Linked DNA regions of Homo sapiens: region 1 is linked to region 2. The links are contacts of gene promoters, found by promoter capture Hi-C in blood cells and fetal thymus (Javierre and others, 2016). All regions are on one chromosome and are shown on one strand. Each heading gives the region's core, a stretch centred on a gene start or on the middle of the fragment in contact. The rest is flanking DNA. Distances are from core to core; before and after follow the strand shown. Region 1 overlaps ZMYM3 (zinc finger MYM-type containing 3). Region 2 holds the start of SNX12 (sorting nexin 12).

Region 1 (5,478 bases), core at 2,784-5,283, 180 kb after region 2:
GCTTACACGCATGGCACCGGGCAGCCTGAGGATGTCAAAAGGATGGTCAGACCTGCCTCCCTAAAATGCGTTGGGCCCTTTCTTTCCCCCGGGATAAGCCATGCTCCTCCCCTTGGAGATCGGGCCAGCTTAGAGATGGAAGGCTGGCTGCCCTCCCTGGAGATCTGTCCACACCCCGAGCTCAGTACCACAGCCCGTGCTCCCCACTGCCCTCTTTCCCGCCTCGCTCGCATGCTGACCCTCCTTACCTTGCAGTACCACAGCAGGTACTTGCTCTTACAGTCCTCACTGCAGAAGTCCCAGGTGCTGCCATCCAGTTGCTCGGTGACTCCGCGCTGGCAGGTCTGGGAGCAGTAAGTACAAGTGATACAGCACAAGCCCAGCTTCTTAGTGAAGTCCTGTTTGTACAGCAGCACACAGCCTGGAAAGAGGAGAAGAGGAAAGAGAGTCCAGAGACACAGATACCCAAGGGCAAGAGACCCAACCTTTTCAAGGTGCTATACCTGAAACCTCTCTCTAAGCAGCCCCTTGTGCCCAAAACTTTAGGGGAGATGGGGGTAGAACATCCCGGGCAGAAGGCCCTGCCTCATGGACCACTTTCCCGGCCTCCCTCCCTTCTCCTCCATTCTCCCTGGCTGGGAGTTATAGTGTCTTCTGCCCTTCCCCATCTCCTTACCTTCGCTGCAGAAGCTTTTCTCCACTCCGCTGAATCGGAGTTTCTCATGCAAGAGTTTCTCCTGCCGACAGTGCTCACACTGGGACACCACACCCCGAAGCCGCTTGAAGTCCTCACAGCAATCACGGCAGCAGAACTGGAACACTTGGTCCTGAGGTGGGGGCACAGGGCAGGGAGGACAAGCTGTAACATCTGGCCCCAGCAGGGGCCAAGTGGAAGGACCCCTTCAGACAGTCTGGTCGTGTGGCAAGACGTGGGTGGGGGTGGGGCTCTTACCTGCCAGTCCAAGACCTCAGGCTTGCCACTGAAGAGGCTGTGACAGTAGTGACAGCTCAGGTGAATGCCCCCCTCAGGGCTTGTGCGCTGGAGGGAAGGAAGACAAGTAAGGGAGGGGCAAGATGTGTGCAGCGGTGGGGAAGGGGAGTCAGGCTTGTTCTTTGCTCTGCCCAGGCCTGCCTACCCCAATTCTCCAACCCTCTTTATGTTGCCAAACCCTTCTATCCCTGGTCCAGGGTCTGGAGTACCTGGAACTTGGTCCAGCAGCTGGGGCTGCAGAACTGGTAGACTGTGCGGTCAACCTTGTTGTAGTAACAGGGGTCAGAGAGGCTGCGGCGGCAGAAGCTGCAGGGTCGGGGAGGGCCTGGGGCATAGAGAGAAAGAGAGAGAGGAAAAGAGAAAGAGAGAGGGAGAGAGAGAGCACACAGAAGGTGTAAGGCAGTGTAAGAGACGAACAGAAAATCCATGGGGAGATGTGGTTGGGACTGAGGTCGGGCAGCAAGGATTACTCTGGAAGAGGGGAGTATGGGAGGTAGAGAGAAGGCCAGCAGGGGACTCAGAGAAGAGGGCTTTGCACCTACCAGTGAGCCCTGCCTGCTTCACTTTGTAAGAAGTGGTACAGCACAGGGAACAGAACAAGCTGGTCTTGCCATTACGATCCACATGTGATAGCATCTCAAAGTTCTTACACAGGGTCTTGCACCAGACACATGGGTACACACGTGTGTTTTTCTGTGAGGATGGGGAAGGAGAGGCTGAGGCTGGATTTGTCCCTTCACTTTTATTTTTTAAATGTTTTAAACATGAAATATTTCAGGCATACAAAAAAAGTATAGATGATGATGTAACAAAGACCTGTGTATCCACCAGCCAGCTTCAAAAATAAAACATAACGGATACAATTGAAACCCCCTTTATTTGTTTTATTTCTCCCAGCCCTTGACCCATCAGCCACCTTTATTTATAACCCAAGAACCACACCCCCTTCCACAGCCCTCTAATGCACTACTCCCTCGGCCCCACCTTCTTGTACGCCCCCAAGCAGGTTGTGTTGCAGAACCGCTTTTGTTGGCCCTCGTGGAAGAGGAGCTCAGGGCCAGGACTCCCGGTCTTGGTGTAGATGTAAGCCCCACACTGGTCACAACAGTTGGTTTTCAGTCCCTTGTTGGCCCGGAATTTGGAGAAGCAAGAATCGCTGCAGAGCCGGTGTACCACGCTGCCATTGCTGACCTCGTGCAGGACCTGCCACACACATACACGCACCCTGAGCTAGGGCCTGGCCACCACCGCCCACCCCAATGCAAGGTCAGCCCCCCACCTCACCCTAGACCTTCACAGCAGACAGTGGGCCCAGGGACCCCCCAACCTGCGCCGCAGGCTGCCGACTTGATGGTGAGGTCCTGGGAGGTAAGGAAGGCCAGCTGTGCACATCCTGGAGAAGCTCTGTCCTTGAATACGCTCCCTCATGATGGCCGCCTTTCCTCCCCACTCCCCTTTCCACAGGGCCTGGACCCTGCAGCCCCAGGATGGGAGGGGCAGGTCAGGGCTGGCCAGGCTCTGTAAATCAGCCCCCACTGAGTGTCCTCACCTCTCCAGTCTTCTGGCATATGCTGCAGCGAGTAGCGTCGGCGGGATCCCCAGACTGGGGGATCGGGCGCTGCTGCTGGGCCTCATACAGGGAGAGACAGACGGATGTGCAGAACTCATGGAAGGAGCCTCCAGAACCAGTCTGCGCCACAACCGAGTCCTTGGTGTTCCAGATCTCCCTAGAGGTGGGAACAGGTTTGAATATTCACTCAAGACCACCCTCTCATTTCCTCAGCTTCCGCCCCTCCTCCAGGATCAATGACCACAGAGCCAAATACTCTGACTCTCTCCCTACATCACTCTCTCGCCCAGCTCCATCCTGCTAGGTTCTTACCAACAGTCTCTGTCTTACTCATACTCCTGCCCAGATCCCTGCCCTCTGCATAGCCCCCAAGACCCTCACGCACTTCTTGCAGAAGGTACAGGTCTTTTTGCCCGAGGGCTTCTTGGAGAAAGTGGTGAGGCAGGATGACGAGCAGAAGAGCTGAGGCAGCCCCTTGCGCTGATAGGCAGTCTGCCCCTTCTGCAGTGGTGTCCGGCAATGTGCACAAGTCATCTTGGTGCCCACTGCAGAGCGCCCGGCCCTTTGTGACACACTTGAGCGTAGGGACATGCGAGGAGAGCGCCGGGGCCGGAATGGCACAAAGTCCTCATCATTGGGGTCATCTACCATGGCATCAGAATCCTCATCTGACACTGGAACTGAGAAAGTGGGGGGATGGACATGAGAAAGGCCACCAAACCAGGTCTCCAACCATCCCCTGACCAACAGTTCAGTCCCTCTCCTGGGATCCCTGTTGTTCCGGCCTTTACACCCTGGCCCTTGTTACATCAGTATCTTAAGACCTTGGTGTCTCTCTCCCTTGGTTACTCTGTAACCTCCCAGGGAGGGAAAGGGAGAGGCTCTAAATGAGAAGATTCGGAGACAGAGATGGCATAGCTGAAACAGGAAACTCGCCATTCTCACTGCTCTTGTTTTCAATTTCCCCCACTGCCCCTGGTTCCCATGCCAACCCATAGCAGAGACAGGCACTTCATGCGCTTCATGGAGCAGGACGGCAGGAGCTAGAAGATCCATGCCCTGCCGCATGCCACTTTCGGACCTTTTCCACACCCAGAACTCCCAGGTCACACTTCCTCAAATCCTACTTACTGCTCTCAGTGGAATCTACAACCTCAGGTTTTGGAGGTTCTGCTCTCCTAACGCGCTCGCTTCTCTTCTGTACCTCGGAAAGATGGGAGGGGAGGAAAACTGACACCCTGGCCAGGCTAACACTAGTACAGGGTTTGGGGGGGGATAGAAGATGGGAGGGGGAAGGGAGAGTGGGGACCCTTGGCCCAGCCCTTAGGAGGAGGGAAGAAAAGGAGGTTGGACTTTCTCCCCAACAAGCAGTAGACACTAGTGCTCCCTCCCTCCTCCTAACTCTCCTTACACACACTCTCTACAGAACAACATCTGGGAGGGAAAATGAAGGGTCTGTCCTTCCCAGAGCTAAGGGGGAACCAGACTCCTTCCAATCCCCTCCCCCTCACCCGTTCAGGCGGCTTCTCACTCGCCTTCGCAGTCAGGCCATCTCCTGCAAAGGAAGCAGAAGGCAGCCTAAATGTTGAGCCTGCCCTCACCACCCTCTCCCCGGCCCAACCCCCGCCTCCATTCCTGGGGAAGAACTTACTCAAAACTGAAAGGGAAAACTCGAGTGCCTGTGGCTTCTTGGGGCCCCTCTCAGGGTTACCTCAGGCTCTGTACTAAGGGTGGGGGGGTGCACGTGCAGCTATTCCATGAAAAAAAAAAAATCTATCCTTCCCACCAGCTTTCTGTCCCAATCCTTGGGGGTTAAGGAAACACAGGTAATATACCTTTCATTAAGAATTTATATTTTACCAATGAAAAACACACACAACCACCCAAAGGTAGCAAAAGGAAAAGGAAGCATCAGTGTATGGGTAGCTTCCCCTGGATTCAGGTGGTTATATAAGCCCTAAGACCCTCGTCACAGCCTGATAGAGGCACACCACTAGGCAGAAGAGGGGAGACACTAGAGCCTCTCAAGTCAAGGTTGTCCCTCCCCTATCAGAGACGCAATCCTAGACCCTGCATTTCTATCGCTCTGCTGAAATCCTTATGCTGTTAGGGGCTCCAGAACCTAGTTACCATTCATCAAACCCAGAAATCCCACTCCCATCTAGAACCAAAAAGCTGTAAAGGTCTTAGAACCAAGAAGCCTGGTGTACTCCCCCAAATCCTGAAGGAAGGACTCTGGCACCAAAAGCCCACTGGGGTAGGAAAAAGGGAACCCTTCCCACCAAATTCACTCCTCCCAACCTACGCTCCCTGAAACCTTACCCCATTCCTCCCCCACAGCCTGTGCCCACCCCTACTTTCCTTAATCTTCCTCTACACACCACCCCACTCCTCCCTCGTAAACCCCAAGTCCTTCCCCACACACATCCCTACACTTATCTCTCCACCCTCCTCCTCCCCACTACTTCCCAAAGCACATAGCCACCCCTCCTTACCACCACCCTCTCCCAGCCCTGATTCTCCAGATAATTAGGCAACCTACCTGGCAAGGAAGGATGTGCAGGGGGGCTAGAGCCCCCAGGTTTGGTCTGAGAACTGTTGATTCCATCCCCCAGAGTCTCTCCCACTGAAGGGCTAGGCGGGGCATTTGGGCTCTGTGGCTGCCCTTGGGGAAGCTCCTCCTCCTGCCCAGGGGAGCCCCTTCTTGCAGTAGCTATGGAGGTGGTCTCCTCCTCTTCAATATGTGGGGACTGCAGTGTTATTGGAGAATCTGGAGCCAAAGGCTCTAGTAGCCCCTCAGGTGAACAGGAATTTGCCCCAGCCCCTGGATCAGGTGGTACCACCTCAGGGGTCTGGCCCCCTGGTCCAGGCTCTAGGGTCTGATCTCCTGCATCCCATGCCAGGGTTCCCTCAGGAC
Region 2 (6,103 bases), core at 3,219-5,718:
ATCTGGCACAGAGACTCTGTCTCTCGAAATAAAAATGAAAGATCTCTATGTGCCAGTATGGAAAGATATTAAGTAGTAAAATCAAGGTATAGAACAGTATATATATATAGCTTGCCTCTATTTGTGTTTTAAAAAGGGATGTATATGTATATATTTATACTGATTAATAAAGTATTTATGAAAATATACTGGTAATGGTGATTGACTTTCGAGAGTAAGAGAAGACAACTGGAATGGGTGGAATAGTCACATTTTTCATTGTACAATTTGAATTTATCATGTGTACATATTACATTTTCCTTTAAAAAGTGAATTTAAATTCCCTGTAAAGAGATAAACACATCCAAGGTATGCCTACCTCTGCTCTTCCTGTCCAAATCCTCTCCATTCTACCAGTGCTCACTCAACTCTCACTTCAAACAAAAAAATTTTCTGACAACAACAACTGGATTTATTGGTTTTCCTCCTCTCTGAACTCTTCTGACAGTTATACTTTAGCATTGCCTGATACACTATTGTTTTATGCATCATGTTTGCCTTGTCTAACTAACTAATCTCATTAAGATCAGAAACTATGACTACTTCTGCATCTTCTAAAATGCAGAATATGCAAGTTACTCAATAAATGCTCAATTGATTAATAGAGACTCTATGTGTCTGTTTATCCTCTCCTCATCTAGAAAATGCATAAGAAATCACCATTACAAAAGTTGGCTTACCATAGCTTGCTCCCTGATATAAATCAGCTCATTCCCACATTTTAAACACTGAGAAGATTCCCAAGGCTCTAGTGGCAACACGAATCCCCTGACAGAAAACCCTGATCTTCACTCCTGTCTACAAGTTCTAAATAGAAATGGCCAACCACATGTATTAATACTGACCATATTTACTGCCAGTCAATTCAGGTGAGAGGATGAATAAAATAAACTAGTTATCTCCTTTCTCCACAACTGCCTCTTGGCAGGAAAAGAGCAACTCGAAACTCCATTAGAGCTTCACACAGAACCCACTACATCATGCTTTGTACTCCTTGACACTGGAAATTGTCTTTTCAGGATCCAGTTCTCAAATAGGCCATCAAAAGCCAAATAACTGGCCAATTGTACATTAAACTCCATCCAGGATCGTCAAGGTCCAAGGAATGTCAATAGGTTGAAATGGAGTGAGATTCATATAAAGTAAGATTACTAAACCATTATTTATTTAAAAGAATAAATAAGGGCTGGATGCGGTGGCTCACGCCTGTAATCCCAGCACTTTGGGAGGCGAGGCAGGCAGATCACTTGAGGTCAGGAGTTCGAGACCAGCCTGGCCAACATGGTGAAACCCTGTCTCTACTAAAAACACAAAAATTAGCCAGGTGCTTGTAATCCCAACTACTCAGGAAGGTGAGGCAGGAGAATCGCTTGAACCCAGGAGGCGGAGGCTGCAGTGAGCCGAGATCATGCCACTGCCCTCCAGCCTGGGTGACAGAGCAAGACTTTGTCTCAAAAAAAAAAAAAAAAAAAGAATAAACAAGGCCAGGCGTGGTGGCTCACACCTGTAATCCCAGCACTTTGGGAGACTGAGGTGGATGGATCACTTGAGGTCAGGAGTTCGAGACCAGCCTGGCCAACATGGCGAAACCCCATCTCTACTAAAAATACAAAAATTAGGCCGGGCATGGTGGCTAACACCTATAATCCCAGCACTTTGGGAGGCCGAGGCAAGCGGATCACTTGAGGTCAGGAGTTCGAGACCAGCCTGGCCAACATGGCGAAACCTGTCTCTACTAAAAATACAAAAATTAGCCAGGCGTGGTGGTACATGCCTGTAATCCCAGCTACTTGGGAGGCTGAGGCAGAAGAATCACTTGAACCCGGGAGGCAGAGGTTGCAGTGAGCCGAGATCATGCCACTGCACTCCAGCCTGGGCTACAAGAGCAAAACTCTATCTCAAAAAAAAAAAAAAAAATTAGCCAGGTGTGGTGGCACCATGCCTTATGCCTGTAGTCCCAGCTACTCCAGAGGCTGAGGCAGGAGAATCGCCTGAACCTGGGAGGCATAGGTTGCAGTGAGCTGAGATCATGCCACTGCACTCCAGCCTGGGTGACAGAGCGAGACTCTGTCTCGAAAAAAAAAAAAATTGTGGAAGGGACCGATTAAAAGTTTAGTGAGTAGAAAAATTTTGCATGCTAAAGTTTTGCTACTAAGTGTTGTCAAGGAGACAGAAGTGTAGCAGAAAGAATATGGAGTCAGACATATTTGTGTTCAAATTCCAGCCCTGTCAGTTATAGTTACGTGTACTTGGGCAAGTTACTTAAACTGCATTCCTCCTCAGTTTCCCATGTGTAAAACGAAGTTCTGTAAGGATTAACACAAATTAAAACCTAGTTCAGTGCCTGGTACACAGTAGGCACTAGATGAACAGTCCCTGTTGCTATTAGAATACCTGGAGTAGGGCCAGGCGTGGTGGCTCACGCCTCTAATCCCAGCCCTTTGGGAGGCCGAGGCAGGAGGATCACTTGCGGTCAGCAGTTCAAGACCAGCCTGGCCAACATGGCGAAACCCCGTCTCTATTAAAAATACAAAAATTAGCCAGGCATGGTGGCATGTGCCTGTAATCCCAGCTACTCGGGAGGATGAGGCAGGAGAATTGCTTGAACCCAGGAGGCGGAGGTTGCAGCGAGCCGAGATTGCACCATTGCACGGCAGCCTGGGCAATAGAACGAGACTCCATCTCTTAAAAAAAAAAAAAAAAAAAAAAGAATACCCTGAGTAAAGAGCGATTTCATTCAGAATCCCTAAGACTCTTGGGTAATGCATTGAATGTCTCCAAAACCCCACAGCAGACAGCCCTTATGCTGTACTAGTCATGCCCAAGCTCCCTCAGGTAACTAAGTTCTCCAGCACTGACAATTTCCTGCTTTTATCATATTCTGAAGGACCTAAATTCCATTCTCCCCCAAAGACATGATTTCACATAGTTCTTATATAGACAAGTGTTTCTCATGTTTTGCTATTCACTTTTCTTTCTTCAGTTTGGACTTTGCCAAACTTGGAATCTGGAAATCATAATTTCTCAATAAGATTTCAAAGCCCAAGTAGGAGACCACAATTTCTCATTCAATTCACTCCTTCAACAATGAAAGCACATACACTCTTTTAGTTCTTCAATGCTGTTTGAGCAGGATGCTGTCCACAGAGAATATTCTGGCCTTTTAGTCTGAGAAGAAAACATAAGGAAAACTAGAAAATGATTCTCAAACTGTTTTGCCTATAACCACTTCAAGTGGGCAAAAGATCCTGCAAACCAAGTACTCTATCTGCACATTCCATCCTTGCATTATGGGCTAAGCACTAGAGAGTAAAGTCCTCTATCATGCATGCTGGAAGAAGCCACTCCTGGGCAATTCTGAAATGTCATGTATTAAAGTAACTACAGACCAGGGTCAGAATCCAAAAGGGTAATCTAGGACAGAAAGGGCAAAAAGCCATTCATATACAAAGTACCTAAACGAGAGTCAATAAATACTGAAATAAACATTCTGGATACTTCAAATCTAAAGGATCCACATAGAATGAAAGCAGTGACTGACAAGGCACCAATCCCAGGGCCAGGCCAGGTTTCAAGGCGAGACAGCACGTAGTATCTGCGAAAACTTAAGCATAAAACATTTCTCTCCTTCAGATGCTGATCCGACACAAGTTAGGAAAGCGCTCGGTCTCAAGGAGACTCCCTTTCTTATTTCTGCTCCCACAAGCCTACTGTCTGCCTTTTCTGGAATCTACCTTCCCTTTAATTCAAGGCTTTGCTTTACTCCATTATCCCAGGGAGACCTCATTAGAAAGCAGCCGGCCTTCCTGCCCTCCCTCTTCAGACTTCTCACAACCTAGTTTAGTTATGGAGCTCAGCGATATATCGCCTTGGCTTTCCATCCCCCAGCCCTCTTCCATCCTCCCTCCCTTCCTTCAGTCGCTACAGCCGTGATTCCTATCTCCTTGAATTCCTCACTCTAATCTTTTTCCATCCACCCCACCCTATCCAGCCATGCTTCACTTCCTCATGGGTAGCTTTCCTGCATCCCCGTCCGATGTCTCCCTCAGGAGTTTTCTGCATCCTCCGGCCACAACTGAATCGGCAGACCTCGTTCCAAGCCTATTATACCCCTAACCCCCAAATGACCCCTAAGGCGTCTTCCCCGCCGTTAGTTGCCCCCGCGGTAGCCTCCCTCCCCCCTCCCGCTCGCGCCGCCCGGTCCTCCCTCAGCTGTCTCCCTCACCCCGTGACTCACCCGCATGCGAACCTCATAGGTGGTGAAGCGCGCGCGTCCCACGCCCACCGTCTGAGGATTAAAGATGTCGATCTCCAGGAAGTTACTTGGCGGCCCGTAAGCGTCGGTCAGGTCCTGCGGCTTCGAGTTAAGGCGCCGGGTATCAGCTACTGCCGTGTCCGACATCTTTCCGAAGGAGAGCCTGGGACCGGGGAAAGGGGGTGGGGGACAGAGGCCTGAGGCAGGAGCGCGCACGGCCCCTCCCGCTTGCAAAATAACTAGCCAACCCACAGGCGGCGGCGGCGCGCACGCGCGCCCACGCACGCACGCGCACGCCGCACGGGCCTGGGCCCCGGGCTCTGAATAGCGGCCGTGCTGACTGCTGCGCGCCCTGTAGAGTGGAGGCCATATTCAGGCTTCCGGGTGATGTTTGTGGCCACCCGGGAACCTGCATCCCCAATACGCAGTACCCAATACCCTGCCTAGCAGCACAGGCTGGCTCCGCCAATCGCGGCTCCTCAACCCAAGAAATTGTCTCGTACCGTGTATCAATCAACAGTGGGCACTGCCCCGTGAGCCAGGCTCCTACAGTGATAGGCCGAAGCCCAGTGACCTGAATAAGTCCTGGTTTTCCGCGAAAATAGAAGGGTGGTCTATGGAGGGTGGGGTTCCAACAATAGTACTGAGAACCTATAACGTAGCCGTCCCACCTGTGCCACTGATGGTTTCAGTTCACGCCACACACAATGGCGCACTCAGCACTACGTATGGCGCCAGGAAAGCAGCAAGCAACTAGGATGGGGTAAAGAAAGACATTTCTCTCTTACTTTTCAGGAAAATTGGGCATATCTTACTCCTTGTTGCCACACTCCAGGTGTACTCAATCTTACATTTATCAGCAAATTGAGGGTACTTATTTCATACCTTCTATTTCTACTCCGCAGAACTCCATACTTGGCACTGCTCTGAGGTTGCTTGCAACCCATAATGGAGATAGAATAAATGTTTACATGAGAATATCTATAGAAATATTAATATTTATATGACTAATTTACATATGCTCCACATTAAAGGGTAGACTGGGTGATGATTTCAGGTCATCCTTTCTCCACCTTTCCCCTGCCCTCCTCTACTCAAAAAATATTTCCCATATCACTGATGCCTGAAATTCTTTCAACAGAGTATGAGGCCCTACAATTTCACAATTGCTGTTTAATTCAATTTAACCAATATCCACTAAGCAAATACGTGCCAAGCACCATGCTAAACACTAAAATCCTGGAGTTAAATAAGAGTCCCTGCCCTCAAGGAGTTAACATTCTAGCAAGGGAGACAAGTAAACAAAACTAATATAATGCGACAAATACAAAATAAGTAAATGTTCAAAGCAGCACATAGGAAATGTATAACTGGAAAAATTAGGGGAGGTTCCCCTGGAGGAGGAAACATCTGAGTTTAACAGACATGAAAAGACATAAAGGACAAATAGGAGTGGAAATAGGGAAAGGTAATTTCTGGAATAAGAAACAGCATATGCAGGCCGGGCGCGGTGGCTCACACCTGTAATCCCAGCACTTTGGGAGGCCGAGGCAGGCAGATCACTTGAGGTCAAGAGTTCGAGATCAGCCTGGCCAACATGGTGAAACCCTGTCTCTATTAAAAATACAAAAATTAGCTGGGCATGGTGGCACACGCCTGTAATCCCAGCTACTCAGGAGGCTGAGGCAGGAGAATCGCTTGAACCCGGGAGGCAGAGGTTGCAGTGAGCTGAGATCATGCCACTGCACTCCATCCTGGGCAACAGAGCAAGACTCCATCAAAAAAAGAAAGAAAGAAAAGGAAAAGAAA

What was found. Contacts are between HindIII fragments. The CHiCAGO score rates a contact against its expected background, and 5 or more counts as called.
Region 1: a contact is called between a fragment that was not itself captured here and the fragment with the promoter of SNX12 in region 2, in 1 of 17 cell types (total CD8 T cells). The highest score is 5.4, in total CD8 T cells.

What each region holds. Positions count from the first base shown.
Region 1 is chrX:71,247,486-71,252,963 of GRCh38, forward strand. ZMYM3 (zinc finger MYM-type containing 3) reads right to left here. Exons shown (of 25, transcript NM_201599.3): 2 at 5,104-5,478; 3 at 4,073-4,116; 4 at 3,693-3,759; 5 at 2,947-3,241; 6 at 2,541-2,718; 7 at 1,976-2,194; 8 at 1,534-1,684; 9 at 1,201-1,316; 10 at 953-1,039; 11 at 677-827; 12 at 249-421; 13 at 1-25. Among named protein-coding and RNA genes, the nearest start is that of ZMYM3, 3.9 kb to the right of the region's middle. The HindIII fragment of the contact is 6,691 bases long and covers 689-5,478 here.
Region 2 is chrX:71,063,866-71,069,968 of GRCh38, forward strand. SNX12 (sorting nexin 12) reads right to left here and starts at 4,469. Exons shown (of 4, transcript NM_013346.4): 1 at 4,277-4,469. The coding sequence starts at 4,441. RefSeq lists silencers at 4,432-4,625, 4,465-4,684. The HindIII fragment of the contact is 9,631 bases long and covers 1-6,103 here.